5 separate regions of the Homo sapiens genome follow, and regions 1, 2, 3 and 5 are each linked to region 4. Evidence: promoter capture Hi-C in 16 types of primary human blood cells and fetal thymus (Javierre and others, 2016). All regions are on one chromosome and are shown on one strand. Each heading gives the region's core, a stretch centred on a gene start or on the middle of the fragment in contact. The rest is flanking DNA. Distances are from core to core; before and after follow the strand shown.

The links. Contacts are between HindIII fragments. The CHiCAGO score rates a contact against its expected background, and 5 or more counts as called.
Region 1: a fragment that was not itself captured here is called in contact with the fragment with the promoter of TLL1 in region 4 in 1 of 17 cell types (endothelial precursors); the score reaches 5.4 in endothelial precursors.
Region 2: a fragment that was not itself captured here is called in contact with the fragment with the promoter of TLL1 in region 4 in 1 of 17 cell types (endothelial precursors); the score reaches 6.2 in endothelial precursors.
Region 3: a contact is called between a fragment that was not itself captured here and the fragment with the promoter of TLL1 in region 4, in 1 of 17 cell types (endothelial precursors). The highest score is 5.2, in endothelial precursors.
Region 5: a fragment that was not itself captured here is called in contact with the fragment with the promoter of TLL1 in region 4 in 1 of 17 cell types (endothelial precursors); the score reaches 5.6 in endothelial precursors.

The regions. Positions count from the first base shown.
Region 1 is chr4:165,653,232-165,657,949 of GRCh38, forward strand. No RefSeq gene overlaps it. Among named protein-coding and RNA genes, the nearest start is that of LINC01179, 29 kb to the right of the region's middle. The HindIII fragment of the contact is 1,210 bases long and covers 1,767-2,976 here.
Region 2 is chr4:166,097,715-166,102,523 of GRCh38, forward strand. It overlaps TLL1 (tolloid like 1), which reads left to right. Exons shown (of 21, transcript NM_012464.5): 20 at 1,563-1,813; 21 at 3,028-4,809. The coding sequence ends at 3,162. Among named protein-coding and RNA genes, the nearest start is that of TLL1, 230 kb to the left of the region's middle. The HindIII fragment of the contact is 857 bases long and covers 2,567-3,423 here.
Region 3 is chr4:166,123,659-166,128,720 of GRCh38, forward strand. No RefSeq gene overlaps it. Among named protein-coding and RNA genes, the nearest start is that of TLL1, 250 kb to the left of the region's middle. The HindIII fragment of the contact is 1,394 bases long and covers 826-2,219 here.
Region 4 is chr4:165,871,468-165,876,767 of GRCh38, forward strand. TLL1 (tolloid like 1) reads left to right here and starts at 1,770. Exons shown (of 21, transcript NM_012464.5): 1 at 1,770-2,606. The coding sequence starts at 2,438. The HindIII fragment of the contact is 7,346 bases long and covers 828-5,300 here.
Region 5 is chr4:165,632,181-165,637,184 of GRCh38, forward strand. No RefSeq gene overlaps it. Among named protein-coding and RNA genes, the nearest start is that of LINC01179, 50 kb to the right of the region's middle. The HindIII fragment of the contact is 845 bases long and covers 1,668-2,512 here.

The sequences.
Region 1 (4,718 bases), core at 1,122-3,621, 220 kb before region 4:
ACTCAGGTAGTGTGGCCATTATATTCCACTTGCATGATGTCCTAAGTGCTTTAAGTTGATTCAATAAGCTTTGTGATTTGAGTGTCTTAACTTGTTCAGTGAATCTTTCTCGAATAGTTTGTCTAATAGTAATAAACTAAGAGGCTATAATATTGTGTCAATTTTCTATTGAGACAATAAGTTTACATAGAGAATAAAAGAGAGATGGAAGGAACATTACAGAGTACCTACTTAAATTCTAGTATTTTATACCATAGGAATATATAAACAAGGAGGGATTTAAAAATTTGTGGCTAATCATGTCTGAAGCATATGTAATATAACAGTAGTTCTAACACTTTATTTTAAAACTGATATTAGTTCATTATCTGTACACAATAAAAGGAGACAAGTTGGAGTTTTAAAAACATTTTAGTTATAATTCATATGATGATTCTGTTCCTTCTATAATACGGGGTATTACTTTCTGATGAGGGTATGCCATCTGACACTTTATTATTTTTTCTGACATACTTATATAATGCTTTTACTCCATAAAATCAGAACTATTTGGTCTGTCTTATATTCAAATTGTGGAAACTTCAGGGAAAGAAATCTGATTTGTAGTTAGAGATGTATTCTGGTCAAGACAGCTCAGTAATTTCATGCATTGCTCTAAACACATAGCAATGATAGATAAATTTAAAAAGAGTTAACCCAAAACTAAACAGATAAATCTTATTATTGACCAATGATAGGAGGGCTGACCTATTGGGCTTTGGATACACAAACCTGTAGGAGTAGTTTTGAACTCTGTTCCCACAGGGTAAAGTGAACAGGGATGAGGACTTTATATGCTAGAATTCTGCAAATAGGAGGGCTCTACTTGTATGAAAGAAGCCTTTGAAAATGATCACGGTTTCTCATAGCTTCTATGGCTACAGATTTTAGTAAGCCATAGACTTAGAGGACCCACAGAGACCCTGTGATCATGAATAAACAAAGATGCCCACATGCTCTGTGTCCAGATCTCACAAATGGCTGTAGGATAGGTGACCCAAAATACCACTACAAGACCTGCTACTAGAGAGACATCCCTTGGGTTGGGTGGAAGAAGCATAGATGAAACACATATAAGATCAAAGTTATAGAAATTCTCTGATCCAAACTAAGCCCATAAACAGAATTCTAAAATTCATGAAGAAACTTAACTAATAAGCAAGATAGTAAACAAATTATGTAGTAAGCACATAAACTCATTGTAGATAAAATTAATTTTAAGAAGCAAGTTTATAATATGTATATTTAGATGCTCTCTGCAATAGGCCAGCTGGTCCTAAACTAGCCACCCAGCTTAAATGACTATAAAATAGGACAAAATATATAAAATTATTGCTTTCAGCCTTGTGATTAAAGGTGTAAGAGAGTGATTCCCAGTGGTGGGCAGTATACGAGGCAAGCTGTATGGTGTCCCTGACTTTCTGTTTGGAGATCCTTTCTAATCTACTGTGCAAGCATGCAGAACTCAAATAAAGCGCAGAGTGTTTGCTGAGTTGAAGTGCAGAGATCAGAGTTTGGGCTAGTGAAACAGCTGGGATGTATGAAGAAAGTTACCAGAGAGGAGAACACTGCAAAAAGAAGGAATTCCTGAAATCTAAATTACACATTCTCAGGGCAAGACTCCACAGGAATAGGCAATAAATAAATAAATAAATAAATAGAAAACCTACCAGAGAGCTAAGAACACAGCAACTTCAATAGCTTGCAAAGGGCTGGAAGCTATTGCAAGCTTTAATTTCAACTAACTGGATGGAGGAATATCAGGAGACACTTGGGATTTCAGTAGAAGTTTCAGGCAGCCATCACTTAGGAATAGGGCTAACGTATCCCTAGAGTAAAGGCAACTCTAGACCATGCTAACAATGTTTGAAAACAAGCCTTGAAAGGATTGAGCAGAGCTACACATGAATGAACTGCCTACCAGAACAAAACAAAAGTTTTAAGGAAGACAACAAAATTCAGACATGCAAAAAGGCAGTACTCATAATGTCCAGCACACAATAGAAATTACTAGATATGTAAAGAAGAGGAGGAAGAAAAAGAAAAAAAAAAGTGGTCCATAGCCAGGAGAAAAAGTAGTAAAAAAACAGAGATTCAGCATTATGGAAATGATGGATTTAGCACACAAGGACTAGAGAATAGCTATTGTAAATATGTTCAAAGAATTAAAGGCAACACGAATATAATAAGGGAACAAAAAGGTAATCTCAGCAGAGAAAAGGAAACCATATAAAAGAACCAAACGGAAATCCTTGAATTGAAAAATACAAAATACAAAATGAAAAATACTATCACTTCTGCAGCTGTAAACCTTGGTGTCCCTTTGGTTATAAATAAACAATTACATAATCCCTTCTAAGTAAGCATAGAAGTGAAAAGTAAATATGAAAATTTAGAGGTTATTCATAACACTAAGTCCTTGGAATCAAGAGCAAGAAAACAGAAGTTAAGGTAGCTATTCTCTCAGCCCCTCTAACTCTGACCACAGGGCTTTGCGTCTCTGTTTTCATCTATATATGTGCTTCAAACTCTCTCTCTCCCTGTAGCATGATTTTCTCTGAAAACATGGTTGTCCCATATCATCCAAGTTTAAAGATTCAGTTGCAGTATAAGCTAAGGAAATTATTTTCCCTTAATTTCAATTCCAAACTCCTATGGAAAAGAATCTAAGTGATCAAACCGAGGTCAGGTATTTACACCTGTCTTAATTTTCTACAGCTCTGGGGACTAATTAGTGCTATCTGAACAAACATGACCACCAATGACACTTCCAAAGATTTTTTTTTCTGAAAGAAAGAACACTCATTGAGTGAGCCTACCCTACAAGTCAGCATATGGACATCAATATACTTTGGTAGTTAGTTCTAGAAAGTAAAATATGCATTTCATACCTTTTTAAAATTAGATACAGTAAATACCATATTATCTGTATTGGCAAGCTTTAAACCTTTTATAAAGTACAGGAAATTACCATGTCCTTGTAAAAGTTAAAAAAATAATTTATCCAATAAAATGAATAATCAATCTTTGTGTATTTTTTTTTATTAGGAAGATAAAGATAATGCTTCCTTTCCTTGGGCATAATGACTATATAAACCACTTACTACATCTTCATGTCAAATGACCCTTCCTTCTAGGGTCTGATTGTCAAATGTAGATAAAAGCAACAGAAACTAAGGATCATAAATTCTAGTCACACAAGGCTGGAGCTATGGACTTTTCTTAAGCTGGTACATTTGTCTACACTTTGTGTGCAGGGCAGACTGCAATCCCTTGCTGTATGGCTTTTGAACCTAATAAGAAGCTAGTAAATACCCTGGGTTACCAAAGAAAGACTTACTCTAAAGCATGGGGGAATAAAGGAGACATACTGCTGACTTCCTGATTCTCCTCTTTGTTCTTGTTTCATTGATCTGGAAAAAAAAAATAGAGAATGTCAGAAAAAGTTGAAACCTATTCACGGTTGTGAAACTCTCTAAGAGCAACCTTCAAAAAAGAAATAATAGGAATTAGGGTTTAGAGATAACATGTAGACATTCAAGTAACTAATAAGAAGGGTGGAGGATGGGCATGATGAACAGTGCATGCTGCAGGATTAATTTAAGTAAAGCCCTAGTAGTTTAGGTGAGAAAAGAACATAGTCTTAAGATCTTTGCTTAAGATGGGCTGTGCATCTGATGCACCGTTGGAAAGATGGGCTGTGCAGAGTAAGAAGAGAATTGACATGATTCAATTGTTTTTATGGGTTCAGATGCCCAGAGGAGTGGAGACTTGGGGCTACAGTTTTAAAGGACGGGTGAGATTCAATCATTTGGGCCTCACTATTTTGCCATGCTTACCATCTGAGATCACTTCCTCTTTAAAAATTTTTTTTTGTTTGTTTAGCTTTGCTTTGTTTGCATGTTCAGCAATGCTGGGCATTATAGCTTCATTTGGCACTAACAGTGACCCTCAACTGTAAACGGAATGTAACACTGCCCTTTTGTGAATCACTTTGGGCTCCTCTTATTTTGCAAATGGAGAGTCTTGACTTCCAATAAAACTTAGGAAATCCTCAGCAAGGGCTTTATTGTCTTATTAAAACTCCAGTAATTAGGGAAATCGGTCAGCCATCATCTCACTTTTGTGTGTGTGCTCTCCCACTATGCCAATTTGTCCATTCACCCATGGATTTGACATGTTCACAGGAATTTCTGCCTAGAGCAGTAAGAAAGTTGAAGCATGGATTCTTATTAGACTGATAAAATTAGACAGGACAAATCACTTAGAAAAATTCATTAGGAAATAACACTGAGTAAGAAAAGAAACGAGTAATTATTCTACAATCGTTCTGTTATTCTATAGCAGGCTTTTAAGAAAACAACTGACTTGTTAAGTGTCAAAGCATTTATTTTTAAATAAATTATTCTCTCCACTCAGTGAAACTTACTCATATGTCAATGTAAAATATGGCCATCTTTTTAGAGCAAAGGATGATACCCAAGTTGCATTATAATCTGCCTGTTACTGTTACAGTGGTTATTGTGATAATTTCTATTTCTATGCTTGTACCTAATATATGGTTTTCAAAGCATTATCAAATAACACAAATAGCTAACAACAAGGGAAAAGTTTTAAAATTATGATGCATGAGGTTAAATATTTTCAAATAATGTTAATTGATCAAAAAATGCTTTTCA
Region 2 (4,809 bases), core at 1,745-4,244, 230 kb after region 4:
TGCCTAACCATCTTCACTAAGGACTATCTGGTCACAGACTACCATCACAGTATTACAATCGTACTTGGCTATCCAGTGGTTTTGCTTCTCCAGATCTTACCACATTGGATTTCCCCTGGGATATTCCTCATTTTAGCAGTGAAACTCCTGCTTCCCGGAAACTCTTTCAATCCTTGACAAACAGGGACAGAAAGAAACTCTACTTTCTCCTGACACTTTTCATATCCCATTCTTTTATCTCCCTCCTAACCACCATGCTTGCTTGGATAGGTTGGTGGGGCATTGTAGGCTTTCTGCCTTTATTTAATCTCCAGTAATTAAAAAGTTATAGGGCTCTGGCCAGGTGTGGTGGCTCATGCATGTAATCCCAGCACTTTGGGAGGCTAAGGCAGGTGGATCACTTGAGGTCAGGAGTTCAAGACCAGCCTGGCCAACATGATGAAACCCTGTCTCTACTAAAAATACAAAACATTAGCCACATGTGGTAGTGAGCGCCTGTAGTGCCAGTTACTTGGGAGGGTGAGGCAGGAGAATTGCTTGAATCTGGGAGGCAGAGGTTGCAGAGACCTGAGATCACGCCACTGCACACCAGCCTGGGTGATAGAGCGAGAGTTCTTCTCAAAAAAAAAAAAAAAAAAAAAGCTTTGGGGCTCTGACTACAAAGTGTTCCTGAGAAGTGTGTTTGAAACCTTTTATTCTCTAAATTATACTAACTAAAAGGTTTTATGGACACTTATTTATTTCTTTGGTGTATTTACCTTGAGCAACAAAGTTCACTCAAAAATAACTGGTATAGCCTATGCTTATTAATTTATCTTTTTTAAAGGAGCTTTGAGGAACATTTACTATTTTTTCATGTAATAAACACAGGCTATTGTTGGATAGGTTGTAGAACTGCGAAGATAATTATAATTAATGATATATGTAGGTTTTTCCCCATCAAGTGAGATAAATATTTCTATCGAAGTAAAATACTACTATTGTATATATTCTATATAGAAAGTTCTATATAACACAAACACACGCAGAGGAGTTTTATATCTATTGTTGAATTTTAAGTTACTTCTTACTTCTTTGCATTTGGGGTTCTTAAATTGTTACGATTAAACTTGAGTTAATACTCTGGCATCTTCTTTATGAAAATAGTTATTTGAGACTAGAGACAGTATTAGGTAGAACAATTTTAAAAATTATTGAGTTACTAAGTGGTAGATTCTAAGTGATTTTCATGTTTTAAATTCTCAGACCTCACTAAAATTGGTACCATTATTTTCATCTGTATTTTACCCTTGAGAAAAATATGGCTCAAAGACATCACTTACCCAGAGTCACAGAGCCAGCAGGCACTGGGACTGAGATTCCAACCCAGGTCGTCCATGTCTGGGGCCTGGGTGGACACCCATGACACTATCTGACTCTCCAGTTGTGGAAAACATATCTGACGCTGGAAGTAGAAACAGAAGTTAGACAATGGCTAGGCTACACTGAAACTACACTGAAATTTAAATTGGACCCGTTAAAGCTCATTGACCTTACTCATCTTATTTTTCTTTCCTGGGCAGAGTGTGGCGGACGATTGAAAGCAGAATCAAAACCAAGAGATCTGTACTCACATGCTCAGTTTGGTGATAACAACTACCCAGGACAGGTTGACTGTGAATGGCTATTAGTATCAGAACGGGGCTCTCGACTTGAATTATCCTTCCAGACATTTGAAGTGGAGGAAGAAGCAGACTGTGGCTATGACTATGTGGAGCTCTTTGATGGTCTTGATTCAACAGCTGTGGGGCTTGGTCGATTCTGTGGATCCGGGGTAAATATACCACCAACAGAATACCCTAGACATGATTAAAGATGCCTATTGATTCATGATTGATATGTGTACCATTCACAAGTTGGCAATGCTTTTTGCAAAAAAAAAAAAAAAAGGCTACATTGTATTATAAATGGCTTGACAAAATATAACACGTCTCTACCCTTATCACTTCTCCACTTCTAATGAATTTGCCTGAATAATATCAGGTGAAACCGATGAAATCAGTAGGTATAATTTCTTGTCACTTTTCCATTGTTCTAACTTCTTATTATGCAATAAATATTTAAATACTTAATCTAACAGCAGCATATTTACACACACACCATAGACAATTCTGTCACGTTTCTGAATTAAAGCATAAAGGAAAAAAATAATATGCACACCATTCTAATTCACATTCTCTTTTTAACAAATATATTTGGAGGCGGTGGCAGGGTCAGCCACTGGTGTGTGTACACAGGCAGTGCTACAGAGACACTGTTCCATTGCAGAGTGTCACTTGTGCAGGTGCAGAGTGCAGGTACAGGTCAGAAGACGTCACCATGAGAAATAAGGAAAAGAAAAACATAAGGTTTTCTCAGTGCTTTTCCTCCAGGATTCACTGCATTAATATTTATATATTTATAGTCTTCTGAATACATATTTTGTCCTGAAGATAGTAGTCCCAGTTTTTCAAACGTCTACCAGTAGCTATTGCTTCAGTAATACTGTTGAACTCCTGCCCAAATGACAACTGAAATATAATGAAAAAGCTTCTTGATGCTTAGAGTATTAAAACAAGAAATAATGGACAATTTGGATTTTGGAAGTGGCTCTGCTCCAGAGCAGCTTCTGAAACACATTTAGTATCTCTTTACACTCTCTGAACCTCACTTTACTGATTTGTAAATCAAGAGAACTTGGCTTAAAAGTTTAGGGAAAAACACTCAAGTTCTAGAGAGAAAAGTGCCCAGAACTTAGAAAATGTAACGTATGTTCAGAGCTCAGCTACATCACCGACTAGTCGCGTGAGCTCTAGCATGTCATTTTCTTCTCCGAATCCCATTTTCTCCTCTATAAAGTGAAGAAGTTGATTACACCTACTCTCCAAGGTTGTTGGGAGGATTAAATTATATTCCAAAGACAAGTATTCCCAAACATGCGTTACACTGAAGAAAAAGTGATTCGTTTTATTGCTTGTTTACTTGCTTGTTGTTTTTGTTTTCCTTCAGCCACCAGAAGAGATTTATTCAATTGGAGATTCAGTTTTAATTCATTTCCACACTGATGACACAATCAACAAGAAGGGATTTCATATAAGATACAAAAGCATAAGATATCCAGATACCACACATACCAAAAAATAACACCAAAACCTCTGTCAGAACACAAAGGAATGTGCATAATGGAGAGAAGACATATTTTTTTTAAAACTGAAGATATTGGCACAAATGTTTTATACAAAGAGTTTGAACAAAAAATCCCTGTAAGACCAGAATTATCTTTGTACTAAAAGAGAAGTTTCCAGCAAAACCCTCATCAGCATTACAAGGATATTTGAACTCCATGCTTGATGGTATTAATAAAGCTGGTGAAAGGGCATCATATACTTCAAGGAAGACTCTACAAGCTTTTGTTCACAGCTTGAAATAGATGCCTCACAATTCAGACAGTTTAATTCAGGAACTGTGACCCTGCAGTGTTCTTTTTGACAATTTGTCAAGATTTAGGGACATAAAATGATCTTGCAGGTCGTAAACTGGAAAACAGTATTTTGGTTGTCTTAGGATAATTGCTGACTTTGTATCTTGGATACAGTGTAAACCAGATCCATATAAGGTGAATGTGAAATGGGAGTCTTCTGAGGGTGATTTGTACTTTCCATGTGTATGTGTGTGTCTGGTGTTTGGAAACTGGGATATTTCAGCTTCATTATTTCCACTTGCAGGCCAGCTTAACCTCTGAAACACAAATGATCTTGAGACCACTTTAGTGTACTTACATTTAGATGAGTTTGAAATCTCAATGGTGTCTAATTATTGCAGTTAAATTCTAGACATCAGTTCTTTAAGTCTCAGAAAACGCCCAGTGAATTGGTAAACTTAGTTCTTTTTTTTGGAAGTGCTGCCTTTTCACACCAAATCCAAGAAGCCTGTGATGTCTTATGAACCTTATGAGAAAACTCCGAAGAGGTGTGAGCAGGATTCTTCTGAATGACTGTCTGGATGGTTCATTACTCAAGTTACTGCTGCTGCTATTGTCTTTCCTTTGTTGTCGATCTGTTATTGTTGTATTATTATTGTTGATGTTGTCATGGTTAATCTATTTTTTAAAATTGAAATGAAGCAGAAGTAGGCCTTGTGAGAACTGAAAGGTCTCTTTCATTTTTCTCTTCCTGGGATTCATTTTTTCAAAACACAATGCTGGAAAAAAAAGATTTGTTTCTGAAAGACTTCTTATGGTGCTATTCCATAAACTTTTTTTCAAACAAGTTTTTGACCTTTGAGCCAACCCACCCGTAGACTACGAATGTCTCCCTATGGCTGGTAGCATTTGAAGACTAAAGACTTGTCAAATATATCAAGAGTATATCATTGCAAGGGCAGCACTTGTCCTGTGGAACAACTACTTATAATGCCTTAGAATTCCTGCACATGATCAAACAGATCCTCCTAAAACACACCTTTTGAAATGTTGAACATAATAGTGTATGTTAATTAACAGCTCTATGAAGAAAATCCATTTCCATGACTGAAGCATTGGATATAAATATGGTGTCCTGCTTTTTTTGTAGAAAATGTAATTTGAGGATGAATTTTCTGCTTTAAAGGCATGTGTGTTTTTAAAATTAATGAATGTAGATGTGTGATTGTCTGAGTGAGTGAAACTACAAGAGGTAAAAAATAATGGGTGGTTGAAAAGTTAAAATGTATGTGCCAAGTTCTACTAGAATTCCATTTGAAATAGCACCTTCCTTAGGTTTCATGGACAAATAATGGGAACTTCTAATTTTG
Region 3 (5,062 bases), core at 273-2,772, 250 kb after region 4:
TTCTGCCACACTCTATAAAAACAATTAGAGATTCTGAACAGAGCTTCAAAGTTAAGCATGAGCAACATAGCAAGAAATGATCTGGCAAAATGCCATACAGTCAAAAGAGCAACCTGCAGAACAAATGAAATCTCAAAAAGGAGAACAGGCCCAGTTGAACATTAAATTGCTAAAGTAGAGGAAAAGATTGAGATGATCATGATACAGAGGGAAAATATAAAAAAGATTAAAGTAAAAAGGGATCATAATAGGGAAAGACAGGTGCAGTAATATGACATAAAAGAATGAGTGTCTCGGAAATACATAACCTACATAAAAGGGAGATGTATTAAATGATACATCACCGAAAAATGTCCCTGAAATGAAGAAATCACTGAATCTGTAAACTGAAAGGGCACACACTAAATCTTACCTCAGTAAAGCTATGGAATTTTACAAGAATGAAAATATAATCATTCATGCATTCATTCTCATTAAAGCAAGAAGCATGAAAAAGGAAAAATCTATTTGGTCTCAGACATCTTCACAATAACCATCAATGCCAAAAGAGAATGGAAATGTGTCTGTAAGTATCATCTAGATAATATCCAAGACAGCAGGAACCACTTATTCACTGTTATACACACAGCACCTGTAGCAATCCATAGCATATAGTATAGGCACATTCTGAAACATGAAACAACTCAGAAAATGCACCTGCTAGTAAACATTCTTGGAAAAAGTCCAGTCAAGCAATAGTTGAATCAAAACAAGAAGCTTGAATGCACCTGCTAGTAAACATTCTTGGAAAAAGTCCAGTCAAGCAATAGTTGAATCAAAACAAGAAGCTTGAGAATGAAGAAGGTGTGATACTGCAACACTTTTACAAAATAATACATTCATTGTCCCAAGAGAACAGCTGGAAGAGCCTAAGAGAGGAAGAAAATTAAAACTCACCAGAGCTAGAAAATGGAATGATTTGGAATACAGGACCAAGAGTGAAGGTTTCATAGAATGAGAAATAAGAACAGTGTTGAAGAAACTAGAAAACAGAGAAAGGGAACTTTAATACAATATTATGGGAGACCTGAAAGTAAATATCAGCATTAGTTAATATTTGTTGTTTTGGAATGTATTCTTTAAATGCAGCATCTTCCTGAAACTTAGTTGTATTGTGCCCCAACTGTATGTTTGAGTGTGTATGCGTGGGTGAGTGTGTAGTTAGAATGTGAGACTCATGACTGCAGGCGTTTTTATCTTTTCACTACTATATTTCTAGCACCTACAATAATAGACTATCACCTACCTTGTGGCAAAGTAGTTGTTTATAATATTGGTTTAACAGATAGTTATTGAATAAATGATATTTTATTTTAGTTACTGCATTATTATGCAGTAAAAATTTTCTTATTATGAGATAATTATTTCAAAACTAGTGATAAGATTTATTACCAAATATTTCAAGAAGCCAGCTTTTATTTTGGTTGTTACTATCAACTAGGATCTTCATATTTAAGTAATTACTCCTTATCTACAATTTTATTTCCCTACAGTTTCTATCTGTTACCTCTTAGAATTATAAGATAAATATTTTGTATGCCAAACTACTTATATCAGAAATAATTTTTCAGAAGTGTATTTATTTTTGAACTTATATCAGTTTAGATGTGTAGGAGAGACATCACAGATAATGCAGTCCAACCATTTCATTTAAGAGAAGTGATGAGGTAATCTATGTTACTAAGTGAGCCGCCCAAGGTCCCACAACTCTCCATCGAAAGTTCTTTTCCTTCTATTTTAACTCCTTGCTTTATTGTTCTTCTTAAATGTTAAGGTACTATAGCATACAATATTTCAATCATTGCAAAATATTTCAAATAAAAGTATTTTATTTGAGTGTTTACTTCCAACATGAAAGTCTAAAGGGACTTTAATTCTCTAAACATCAGCTTCTCACTTTCCTCTCTGATGCTTGGGTATGTGTAGTTATATACCTACTCATCTGAACTCTTATGAACAATCTGCCAAATTTCAGAACCTATCCTCAAGACTTTGTTTACACAATCAATTTCCTGGACTCTGCCTTAATTCAATGTCCTTTTTTTAAAAAAATCACCCACTTAAATCCATAGTGGATATGAAAGGAAAAAGAAGACATGTGCCTCGTGTACAAAATTGTGCCTATTATTAATATTGTGGTAAGAACAGTTTTCTGACAGTGGGCAATTTTCCAAAATGTAAGCTTCTTGGCCCATTCTGCATGCAAAGAGAAACAGCAGAGCAAAATGCTGATAAAGAAAAATATGGTTTTGTAAGTATAAGACAAATGTATTATTTTAATCTTGGGGGAGTCTAAGGAAATTTTATTCTAACTTTTCTGTTATTGAATCTGAAGTTAAGATCTCATATATGAACAAGAAGAGTCGAATCCAGTATAGTGACCACTATTATTACATTAATAATAGTGTTACTTTAAATTAGTTATAAATTAAATTTGAATAGATTTCAACATCTTTTTTTTACATAAGAGAGTGAGTTCTTTAAACTTTAAGAAGTAAGGGAACTCAACATCATGTTTATCTATTTTTGTTCTAGATTAAGGGACAATGACTTAATTCTTGTGGATTTTCATGCAGGATGAAAGCGATGCAGACTCTGGGTAAATGTGTGTGGTCTGTTCTTTTTTTCAGATCCCCCTTTAATATCAATGACAGTTTGAAACTTAGGACTCACCTTTTCTACTCATACTGAACGTGCCACTCAGTTACTCTTTCTAGTTTTTCTGTCTGTAAACAATTGCGAATATATAATTCCACTGAGCGGGGTGATTAGGAATCATGCTTCATCGGTAAAATAAAATGTTTCTTGACCAAAGCAAAACCATAATGACTACAGTAAGTATTAATTTCATGAGTGAAACACTTCATTATCATTAAATTCTATCTCATTTGGTAAGATGTTGAAAGTAAATACAGAACTGTTTTAATTGGACAAAAATATACTAAGTAGCTAAAACAATAGAAAGTGTATTACAATATTAATACAGTGTTAATCCTAGCTCCTGAATTACTTTATAAATATAACCTTAATTATCTTTTGTAACTCTCTTTTTTTTTATTGTACCTCAAGTTCTAGGGTAGATGTGCACAATGTGCAGGTTAGTTACATATGTATACATGTGCCATGTTGGTGTGCTGCACCCATCAACTCGTCATTTACATTAGGTATATCTCCTAATGCTATCCCTCCCCCCTCCCCATACCCCACAACAGGCCCCGGTGTGTGATGTTCCCCACCCTGTGTCCAAGTGTTCTCATTGTTCCATTCCCACCTATGAGTGAGAACATGCGGTGTTTGGTTTTCTGTCCTTGTGATAGTTTGCTCAGAATGATGGTTTCCAGCTTCATTCATGTCCCTACAAAAGAAATGAACTCATCCTTTTTTATGGCTGCATAGTAACTCTTTTTTTTTCTTTTTGAGACGAAGTCTTGCTCTGTCTCTCACGCTGGAGTGCAGTGGCACAATCTCAGCTCACTGCCACCTCTGCCTCCTGGGTTCAAGCAATTCTCCTGCCTCAGCCTCCCAAGTAGCTGGAATTATAGGCATGCACCACCACGTCTGGCTAATTTTTGTATTTTTAGTAGAGATGGGGTTTCACCATATTGGCCAGGCTGGTCTTGAACTCCTGACCTCAGGTGATCTGCTGGCCTCGGCCTCCCAAAACGCTAGGATTGCAGGCGTGAGCCACTGCACCAGGCCCATTTTTTAACTCCTAATGAAAATAACACTGTAAATCTTGCCTAGAGCTTGATGACTGGGCACAAGTGTTGTAGAGTCAGACAATCTGCAGTGAAATCCAGTTCTACTACTTAAATTTGAGTTTTGTTATTTAGAAATAGGACTGACGATTCTAGCTTTTTATGTGCTATTTATTGTAACTGATTATATGCAACAAAAGAGGAAGAAACAACAGGTAGTGTGGGATTGCTGTTCCTGCCTGGTATATGGGTAATAAATGAGATAAGATTAGAGAGAAAAGAACAATCTTTTCTGCCTTGGGTGTTCATGGGGTTTTGAGCAAGTTTTAAATTATAAAAAGGAATTGAATAGGTTCCTAAGTAGAAGAGAGACATTCCAAAAGAACAGAACATTATGATCCAAAGTGCTGAGGTTAGATACTAGGCTATTATTCAAGAGAAGACAGTAAAGAAAGACATTAAGGAAAAGAGGGAAATTGCATGGGTTGGAAAGCTTTGGTGAGGCAGCGGCTGGCAGGCAGGGCCAAACTTGGTATTTCTTTCTAACTCTGCTTGAGAATATTAAATTGTCCCAGAGCTACACATTATTTTTTAAAAGTACATGTTAAAGTTTATTTTCTTCAGAGTTCAAAGTTTTAAACAATTATTAGAGTATATCATATATATATGAATATATACATATATTTATAGCTACTCTATTAATGGATAAGACAACTGAATACTTTCAATTAAAATACTTGAAATGTTGCTATTCCCCACTGTTAGCTGGCTTATAAATCTAGGTGAAAAGTTATTACAAATACAATTCAGGCTTATATTTGCATGTGTTTTTAAAATGAGTTTGGTATATATTTCTTCTCTAGAGGTTAGAAACCTGGTTTTAATTCAGAACAGGGCCTACTCTCCAACATAAGATTATGCACACTGGCAGATTTCAGTAGTAAGCAATTTATAGGTGTTTCAAGTTTTCAAGCACTAAATAAATTAATTTAATCTTTTTTTCTAGATGTGAAGATATGTTTGGTGGTCAAATAACCAGGAAAACTATCATTTATCAACAGAAGGGCTTCATACAAACTAATGACTGTGAAAGATGACACAGGGTTTTGCAACATGCCCACTTCATTTCATTTTTGGCACAGCAAGTTGATTTAGGAATCACTAGTTTTTCTCTGTTACTAATAGTTTGTAGAACTCAAGGAAGAAACATGATCAGTAGCCACACCTCTGGAATTGTTGCCAAATAAAATAAGCTCTACAGGAAAGATTTCAGGAAATAATATGAGTCACACATGTTGGTTCTATAGCATTTGTTTTGTTCTTCC
Region 4 (5,300 bases), core at 520-3,019:
CTGCAAAGTAAGTGATGTTTAGGCAAACCACAGGTAAAACTTCTTGCAAATTTACACATGATAAAATAGTCTAAGGAGATGTTTGCAGGCATTTAGATTAACAAGGGACATTTTTAAGGTTTGGGATAGGGAATGGGAACACTGTCAGCAGCTCAAGAGCAGGAATCCTCTAGATGACATATGCATTCTCTAGGCTTTCAGATGGGCTAAGCAGGACATATTCTTGTTGAGCTCTGCACTAGGGCAACACTATTATTAATTATGCAAACTTTTTTTTTTTTGGATGGGTAAGAGAATTTGAGAATGACTCAGCAAGAGATTTCAAAATCAAACGCCTCTACCTGCTTATTGAACATGTTCTTTTTAAAAATCTACTTCTGCTCTGTATCCTGGGCATTAAAAGCTTAAGATCTATGGAAGGGAAGCTCCATCATTGCAGTGGCCTCTGAGAAAGACCCAGTTTTGCAAAGAACACTTGGTCAGTTCAGTTCCACCTAGCCTTCCTATACTTTTAGTTTAAGTTGAAAATACTTGGTACTTTTTCAAGATTGGCTTCTTACTTTTCTCTAACAAACATGAATAAAACCTAGTAAAATCTCCAAACCAAAGATGACTTTATCTGTCAAAGTTGTGTGTGTGTGTGTGTGTGTGTGTGTGTGTGTGTGTGTGTGTTTACCTTCATACATTCCTCTAGATGATAACTTGGATAGGGGGAACACTAGTCAAATAATATGTAAGGCTTTTTTTTTTTTTACAAGTCCTTGCTAAAGTGACAGTTTTAAAGATTTAGTTGGAAAAGGAAAGCTCCCAATCACCAGTCCCTTGGAAGCTTGTTGGGGGAGAAGTCATCTCACCTATTTTGGAAACTACTTGCAGATGTGGGGAAACCTCGGAATTGCTCACAACAGGGGTTTTACAGAGATTTCCTCTGATTTTTTTCCTCCCCAATTTCCCACAACCTGTGTTTGTCTTGAGTCTGCTCGGCTGACATGTGGTTTACCTCGCTGACCCTCCTGCCAGGTTTTACACCCTCTCCTCTGAAGAAGTAAAACATTACTGAAGCCGAAGGATACTGAGCAACTCTGCTCATGGGCGCCAGAACTGTCACAGAAAATTTGCTTCCCGAGTATTCCATCCAGCTTCCCTTCCTGCGCCCACGTGAGCCATAGCGCCAGCCCATCGGCAAGGTCTCAGCGTTTCCTGCTGCTGCAATCTGTAACTCGATTTTGGATTTTTTTTTTAATTGCAGTTCTGAGGATCTTAGTTCTTAGCAAAACTTTGTTGGTTAGGAGACCAACAGTAGTCTGTTTATTTTCTTACCAAAATCGTGAAGACTCGCACACTTTTCCTCCATTCCTGCGCTGCTCTAAGGTTAAACAGCAGCAAAGGAAAGAAATACACACTCGCTGTTTATTTGGGGGGAGGGGAAATATGGATTTGCAGCTAAGTTATCACGATCCTTCGCTCCACCCCCGGTCTGGCACTCTCAACTGACACGTACATCATCTATTAATTGCTGTTTGCGTACACAGATACATAATATATTCATTTTTATCTTTGGTAAAATATAAATGGAATTGTCAGCGCGCTCCTGTCTGTTTGTTTGTCTAAGGCTATCAAAAGAAGTCAAGAGAGGAGGCTGTGGTCCGGATCCTGACCCTGATTGTATGAATAAGTAAGCAGGATGCAAGTGATTGGGTTAGATGGTGCGAATATTTTTTTTTTTCAAGTTAGGAAGAGGGTAAAAAGACAGGCTGGCGGGGGGAAGGCAAACAGTGCATCCCCAAATCCTCACACTTTTGCTCTCTTGCAGTCAGTTGCTTTGCTGGCTTCTGCAGGCTTTTAAGGTCTCGCGGCGTAGAAATGCCTGGCCCCCACCCCCTTCCTCGGTCTCCCCTTTCAATTCAGATGTGCTGATGTGCAGACCGGATTCATCTTCTCGGAGCTGCGGCGGCGGCTTTGGGCTCAGGCGGCGGCGGCTCGCGCTCGGCCGCGGAGTCCTGGCAGCAGCGGGGACGCGGCGCGGGAGTCCGAGCTCTGGTGGCAGCTGAGCCCGCGGGGCGCCGCTCGCCGAGCCGCGGCCGCGGGAAGTTCGGCAGCCAGAAGGACGACCTGGCAGGCTGCGAGCGCCAGCGCCGCCAGAGCCGAGTTTGCCTGCGCCCTCCCCGCCTCCGAGTGCAGAGTTCCTTACCTGCCCTCCGCCCACCCGTGGGCCCCTAGCCAACTTCTCCCTGCGACTGGGGGTAACAGGCAGTGCTTGCCCTCTCTACTGTCCCGGCGGCATCCACATGTTTCCGGACACCTGAGCACCCCGGTCCCGCCGAGGAGCCTCCGGGTGGGGAGAAGAGCACCGGTGCCCCTAGCCCCGCACATCAGCGCGGACCGCGGCTGCCTAACCTCTGGGTCCCGTCCCCTCCTTTTCCTCCGGGGGAGGAGGATGGGGTTGGGAACGCTTTCCCCGAGGATGCTCGTGTGGCTGGTGGCCTCGGGGATTGTTTTCTACGGGGAGCTATGGGTCTGCGCTGGCCTCGATTATGATTACACTTTTGATGGGAACGAAGAGGATAAAACAGAGACTATAGATTACAAGGACCCGTGTAAAGCCGGTAAGTGGCTCTCCAGGTTGGGACGGTGGCGCGCCGGGGGCCGCTGCGCTGGGTTTCCCATGGGTGGCGGTGGGAGCTCACCTGTTTCCTTCCCTCCCGCGTCAGCCCCTCCGCCGCCCCTCCTTCTCTCCCCCTCCTTTTCCTTCCCTTCCCCACCCGCAAGTGGCAGCCGCTGCGGCCCCAGTTGACTAGAGTTCTGTGCCAGTGGGATCCACTGCCAAGCTCCCATCTCCCAGTTTGGGAATAAGGTCCTAGAGTTTCTGATCCCTCTCCCCTCCCCCAGCAAAACGAAACAAGTCGTAAATATAGCTTGCTGCTGTAGGTTTTAAATTCCAACACTCAGCGGGCTTTATGCATATGGAAGGGACACCGTCTTCTTTCCCCTCTCCCCCAGGGCGCGGTTTCCCAGCGCTTGTTCGAGAGCGAGTTGGCAGGGTTCCCCAAAAGATACAGGAGGATGGCATTGCTACCTGGAGACACCTTGGCTCCCTCTTTTACCAGGAATTTCAAGTGTGGGTTCCAGGCTAGAAAGGGATTGTGACAATCTCGGAAGAACTCACTTCTAGATGGGATTCTGATGCATTTGCCCATTTAAAATAAACTGAAAAGAAAAATGTTTTTAAGTTGCTACCCCATTCAAATTTGTGTCTTCCTTCCAGCTAACACCCCAGGGAAATGCAGTCGGACCGGCACTGCCTGAAGCTCAGCTTCTTGCCTCGCAGGGTCCCTGAATGTCCCAGGTCCTTCCCCTCCCTTCTACGCCTCTGGCGCCGCTGCCAGCCTCTCGCGCGCGCGGGGCGGCGCTTCCCTCTCGCCGCCTAAGGTCGGAGGCGCACGTGCCCGGGGCCGCTACCACGTGAGCGCAGCGCCTGAGGGCGCCCAGCACTGGCCGCGGCTCGTGTCCGGGCTTCGGGAGCTCCTGGTTCCTTGCTCTATTGGGCTGTGGCTGAGGTGATCCGCGCTCAGTGTGGACGCACAAGTAACTTCGTAAAGGTTGCATGGTGGTTGGGGCTAACCTAGCAGAGCGGTTTGTAAGCGGAAGGCACGTTAGGTTCCATCCCAAGAGGTGTGGGCTTTAGCGAAGCGCAGAGGAAGGGAGTGGACAAAGTCAAATATATCTAGGGTTCTGCAGATTCCGTGCGGGGTTGCTCTGTGACTAGCTTTTCTTCCCTTCCATAACTAGATAAGCATTATTCACCCTCTCTTGGGCCTGGAGGAAGGAGAGGTGTACACAATGAAGAAAAATGCTGGAAATTCCCTAGTTAATTTTTACCTTTGATGACCCATTGTTCTGACAAAAAGGGTATGTGTGTTGTGTTCACATTATCACATCTTTCTCGGTGCATCCTTAAATGCAGGTACTTATTTAAAAGCCAGAGTAGCTTAGCAGGAGCCTGTTAGGCTGGAACTCAGAATTCTGATTTAATTCAGTTTTGCTGATGAATTCCCTGCTGTCACTTTTAATAACTGTATCTATTTTCCCACTGAAAGTTTCTTGGGCCACCCCGGATGGTTTGGACAAGGAGATGCTGATTGCTGTGGTGGGTGACTAGTGGCTGGGCATTCAGAATCTGTTCTCTGCAACTCCTTAAATGTACTTTTTGCTAAGAAATTTCTTTTGAATAATGTTGTAACTTGCTGAAAATTGTGCGTTTTCTTGTTTGTGGTAAGGTAGAGATGAAGTACATTATTTCAAAAGATTGTCTAGGAAAACATCTACTTTGATACCCTGTTCTGTGAAAGATTCAAGCAGATAAGTATTTGCACCATGTGTATTGAAACACACCTCAGACATTAGTGTTTAGTTTCCTCAGCAAATAAACATCTAGGCAAGGAAAAAAAAAAACTTTAATAGCATTTACTTTTTGTTTCCCCTTTGATGCTGGTTTATTTTTGAATATAGCTGTTGAAAATAAAGCAACAATAAAACCAACGTTGAATGGATTATTACCCTAATCTTATTTCTTCTCTGTTTTTGAGAAGAGGCATACCAGTGCACACCTGTGTGTGTGTTCACACGCATGCATGTGTGTGTGTAATGAGAGGGAAATAAGAATGGCCTAAGTGGAGGGCTAAGAAGTATGCACAGAATGTGAATCCCTTTTAAAATTATCTACCCTGCTTTTGAATTTAGGCTTCAATTTACCATCTTGGCTCAATACAGGCAAAATTTTAGTGCCTCCTTTTTACCACTGGGAAAGTCAAATCAAAGTTCCAATAACAGAAAAAAAATGAAATACTACATTGAAATCCCAAGCAAGAGTCAAAAAAAAAAATCACTGAAATAAGGAAGATGGGGACGGGTCTGTGAAAGAAAGCCATGCAAAAGCAAAAGAGAAGGTACTTTCCAGACACTTGGGGCATCTTTGATCTGCCCTTTCCAAATAACAGATTGGAGGGCATGGCCCATGAAATAAAAGGCCCTTTCTGAGCTCCTCTAATAGGGTCTTCATATTCCTCAAAGTACACAGAGGCTTGATATCACAATGACAATCATGGCTTCGTGGTTTTAAAGCACTTTTGAGTGTTGGTGTTCACAACAGCTCAATATGGTAGAGTTTGTTACTCTTCCCATTTTACAGATAGGAAAGCAGAGGCCCAGTGAGGTTACATGTCTTCATTAAGATTATTCAGAACTCAATTCCAAGTTTCCTGGCTGCAAGTCTGGCTGTATTTGACAATTACACTGCATTC
Region 5 (5,004 bases), core at 840-3,339, 240 kb before region 4:
GCCACCACCATGGCAACCAGCTCTGTGTGGGTTTGTAGGACTTCACACAACCCGGTTAATATCGTCTGCTTGCTACCTGCTGAAGTTCAGCTGTTGCAGACCCATGGATGTACGGGACTAGTTTATATCCATTCGAGCACAGTATTTCATTCTGTTTTATTATCAGTGTATTAAAGGATTATAAGTAGCAATGACAAAACTGAATTCTCTAGACATCATGATGTTAAGCCATGGAGAAACAAACAGATTCTAACCTCACCATTTCTAATAGCATAGTATTTTTAGCTTTATTTAGTCACATGTTCCCTTGATTACAACATTTATTCATATATACTTAGAATAATGGCAGGGTCAGCAACCTGATTCCACTTTAAGTTTGTGTGCTTGAGGTTAATACTGTTATCTGTTATGTTATTAAAACTAATATAATAATTTTATTTAACTAGTTGTGTTCGTTAATGGTTCCTTTGGGCTTTGTATGCAGTTGGAGGAAGTTGGAATTGCTGAAGACAAGGCTTGGCAGTGACCCTCCCTTGAAGCAGGTTGGTGAACACAACCGTCATTGCCACAAGAGACAGCATCAACATGTAGATAAAGGACAAATACAAATCTAGAGAGAGAGAGAAATGATGATAGCAAGGGCACAGATATTTATGAAGAGACAGAAATGAAAATAATGTATTATATTGAAATAAACTTGTGCTTAACATCAAAAAATTAAAAATGATATGACAATTTTTTCTTTAATCGATATACTGTCTTAGGACAAGGACTATTGCTAAACTCATAAAACAGAGTAAATAAAAAATACCTAAAGACTTAGAAAAGACTAGATGAGGCTATCTGAGACCAGGTCCCTACCCACTCATGATTCAGCATAATTCAAGAAATACTTAATGAGCTTCCACTTTATGCTACATTATGTTATCTTAGGTAAAAAGGGAATGCAGATTAAAGAAATAATTTCACACCACAAAGAATTCACACACTGAAGATAAGACAAACACGAAAATATTTTAAATAGTAAGTCAAGTGTAGTAAGTGTCAAAAGAGGTACAAAAAAAAATTCTATTTAACTTCCAAGTAAATTAAATCACTTTTGGTGGGGGATCAAAAAAGACTTCATGATAGACAATTCACACACACTCACACACACACATATAAACACACACACACATAAATAATAATGGCCAATAAATATATGGAAACATATTTAACTTCAATAACAGTTGAAAGAATTTGAATTAAAATAAATGTATCAGGAAGAAGCAATAATTCTGCCTATGTCAGTGTTATATCTCTTTATAACTCCTTCTTAGTTCTTCTCTCTTAAAAGAAAAAAAGTGGCTAAACTTATTGGTCAAATCCAAAGAAACTGATTAGAATATATTGACAAGTAGGAAGAACAACTATAAAATAGCATATGATCTGCCAACTCCTGTAAAATTGTAATATTCTGCTCAGTAAGGTTTTCCTTTATCTGCCCACCTAAGAAAGTTTTTCATAACACTTTTGATTATTTTACCTTGAATTCCTTTGTCTATAACCTTGAGATGATAGGAAATTGAATTTTATATGAGGAGGCTTCAAAATATTCAAGGAAAATTGAATTAAAAAATAAAATAAAATTAAATTAAATTAAAATATGAACTTTGTTTCTCAACATAAGCTTCATCAAGTTAAAGAGCCATTTTCTCCATCCCTAAATAACTGAGTCCTGGGAATTTAACCATGTCAATGTAGTCATATATATATATATATACATATACATATATGAATGACTTCTACCTTTGTTTGTATGTATATATAAAAGTCTACAGCTCTGATTTCAGAGCTCAAAGACAAGGTTTTCTAAATAACCCAATATTTAGATTCAGAACTCAAAGACCAGGCTTTCTAAATAACCCAATATATTATTATTATTAACTGAAAAAAATGGGCACCTTTTACAGATATTTTAAAATTAAGAAAGAAAACAAAGGTAGAAAGAACCAAATCAGGATTGTAAGGTGGATGCTTAATGATTTCTTGTCAGAACTCTCATAGAAATAGATAGCATAAATGAAAAATAATCACAACTTCTGGAAATGAAGGACACACTTAGAGAAATGCAAAATACACTGGGAAGTCTTAGCAAAAGAATAAACAGATAGAAGAAAGAACTTCAGAGCTCAAAGACAAGGCTTTCTAAATAAACCAAATTTTTTATATATATATATATATACACACACACACACGTATATCATATATATACATGTACGTATATTTTATATATGTGTGTATATATACACACACACATATTATTAACTAAAAAAAATGGGCACCTTTTACAGATGTTTTAAGAAAACAAAGGTAGAAGGAGCCAAGCCAAATTAGGATTGTAAGGTGGATGCTTAAAGATTTGTCATCAGAACTCTCATCACATTGTCTTGGTGTGATGAGGGAATGAGCAGGAACAGTGTCATGGTGGAGAAAGACTCCTGGTGAAGTTTCCTGGGTATTTTTTTGCTAAAGCTTTGACTAACTTTCTCAAAACACTTTCATAATAAGCAAATGTTATTGTCTTTTGGCTCTCTGGAAAGTCAATAAGCAAAATACCTTGAGTATCTGAAAAGCTGTTGCCATTATCTTTGCTCCTGATTGATCTGTTTTTGGCTGGACAGGACCATTTTCACCTCTTGGTAGCCATTGCTTTGATTGTGCTTTGTCTTCAGGATCATACTGGTAAAGTCATGTGGCAATTAGTCATCTCCTGTTACAATTATTTGAGGAAATGCTTTAGTATGTTGATCCCACTTATTTAAAATTTCCATTGAAATGGCAGCTATTGTTGGCAGCTGATTCTGGGTGCAATGGTTTTGGCAACTGCTGATTGGAAAGTTTGCTCAAATTTAATTTTTTGGTCAGAATTGGGTAAGCTGAACAATTGAGATGCCTATAGTGTTGGGTATTGTTTGTGCTGTTAATTGTTGGTCTTCTTCAATTAGGGGACAAATAAGACTAATTTTTTCCTCCCAAATTTAATGTGGATGGTCTGGTGTTTCAGGCTTCATTTTCAATATTATCTTGTTCTATCTTAAAATGGGTCAATTTGTTGGAAATACCACTGGTAGATGGAAACTTCCAGCTGAACTTTGTAACAGTTTTTACCAAACATGAACTTTCCTTGACACAATCCAGGAGAGGCAGCGAACAGAGAGTGCAGATACAAGCACAGAAGCTGTGGCAGATGGGGAGGTATGAAACCTGAAAGCCCTGCTTGCTTTCTCAGTGGGGAGGCTCATAGCCTGGGGCATGTTCTCAGCCCTGTTCACTGGCTGCCTGGAAATAAACTTGGTGCTGTTGTGGAGGCATGGCGGGATTGAGACTGGCCTTTCTGGCTGTGTGGAAGCTGGGTGAGGCCTGTCACTGCTGGCTTTCCCCAACTTCCCTGGAGCCATGTACAACATAACAAAGGCAGCCATAATCCCCCTGGGAACATAACTCCATTGGCCTGAGAGCCACACCCTCATCCCCCACAGCAGCTGCAGCAAGCCCTGCACAAGGAGAGTCTGAGCTCAGACATGCCTAACCCTGCCCCCACCTTATGTTTTTTTCTACCCACCCTGGCAGCCAAAGACAAAGGACATAATCTGTTGAGAGTTCCATGGCACTGCCCACCATCTGAGAAACCCTAACACTTATCCAGGCAACCCTAGGGCAAGCTTATATCCACCCTACACTATGGCAGCTGATGCTGTCTTGAAAGCCCCACCTCCTGGCTGGAGGCCAACCAACAAAAAACAAGCACACTAAATAAAGCTACAACCAAGGACTCTCACAGAGTCCACTTCACTCCCCTGCTACCTCCAATGGAGCAGGTGCTGGTATATGTGGCTGAGAGACCTGATGATATCACAGGACTCTTTGCAGACATTCCCCAGTACCAGCCTGGAGCCCCATAGCTCTTCTGTATGGCTAGATCCAGAAGAGTGATAACAATCACTGCAGCTCGGCTCTCAGGAGGCCCCATCGCTAGGGGAAGGGGGAGAACACCACATCAAAGGAGCATCATGTGGAACAAAAGAATCTGAGCAGCAGTCCTTGAGTCCAGGATCTTCCCTCTGACATAGTCTACCCAAAAGAGAAGGAACCAAAAAAACAATTCTGGTAATATGACAAAACAAGGTTCTTTAATGTCCCCCGAAAGATCACACTAGCTCACCACTGATGGATCCAAACCAAGACAAAATCTCTGAACTGCCAGAAAAAGAATTCAGAAAGTCAATTATTAAGCTACTCAAGGAGGCACCAGAGAAAGGTGAATACCAACTTAAAGAAATAAAAAAAAGATACAGAATATGATTGGGAAAATCTCCAGAAAAATAGATAGCATAAATAAAAATAATCACAACTTCTGGAAGTGAAGGACACAATTAGAGAAATGCAAAATACACTGGAAAGTCTCAGCAAAAGAATCAAACACGTAGAAGAAAGAACTTCAGAGCTCAAAGGCAAGGCTTTCTAAATAACTCAGTCCAACAAAGACAAAGAAAAAAGAATTAAAAAATGAACAAAGCCTCTAAGATGTTTGGGAATATGTTAAACGACCAAACCTAAGAATAACTGGTGTTCCCAAGGAAGAAGAGAAATCTAAAAGTTTGGAAAACATATTTGAAGAAAACTTCCCTGGCTTCGCTAGAGATCTAGACATCCAAATACAAGAAGCTCAAAGAACATCTGGGAAATTCATCACAAAAAGCCACCACATAGGCCCATAGTCATCAGGTTATCTAAAGTCCAGATGAAGGAAAGACTGTTAAGAGCTATGAGGGAAAGGCATCAGGTAACCTATAAAGGAAAGCTTATCAGACTAATAGTAGATTTCTCAGCAGAAACCCTACAAGCTAGAAGGGATTGGGGTCCTATCTTTAGCCTCCTTAAACCAAACAATTATCAGCCAATAGTTTTGTATCAAGCCAAACTAACCTTCATAAATGAAGGAAAGATACAGTTTTTTTCAGA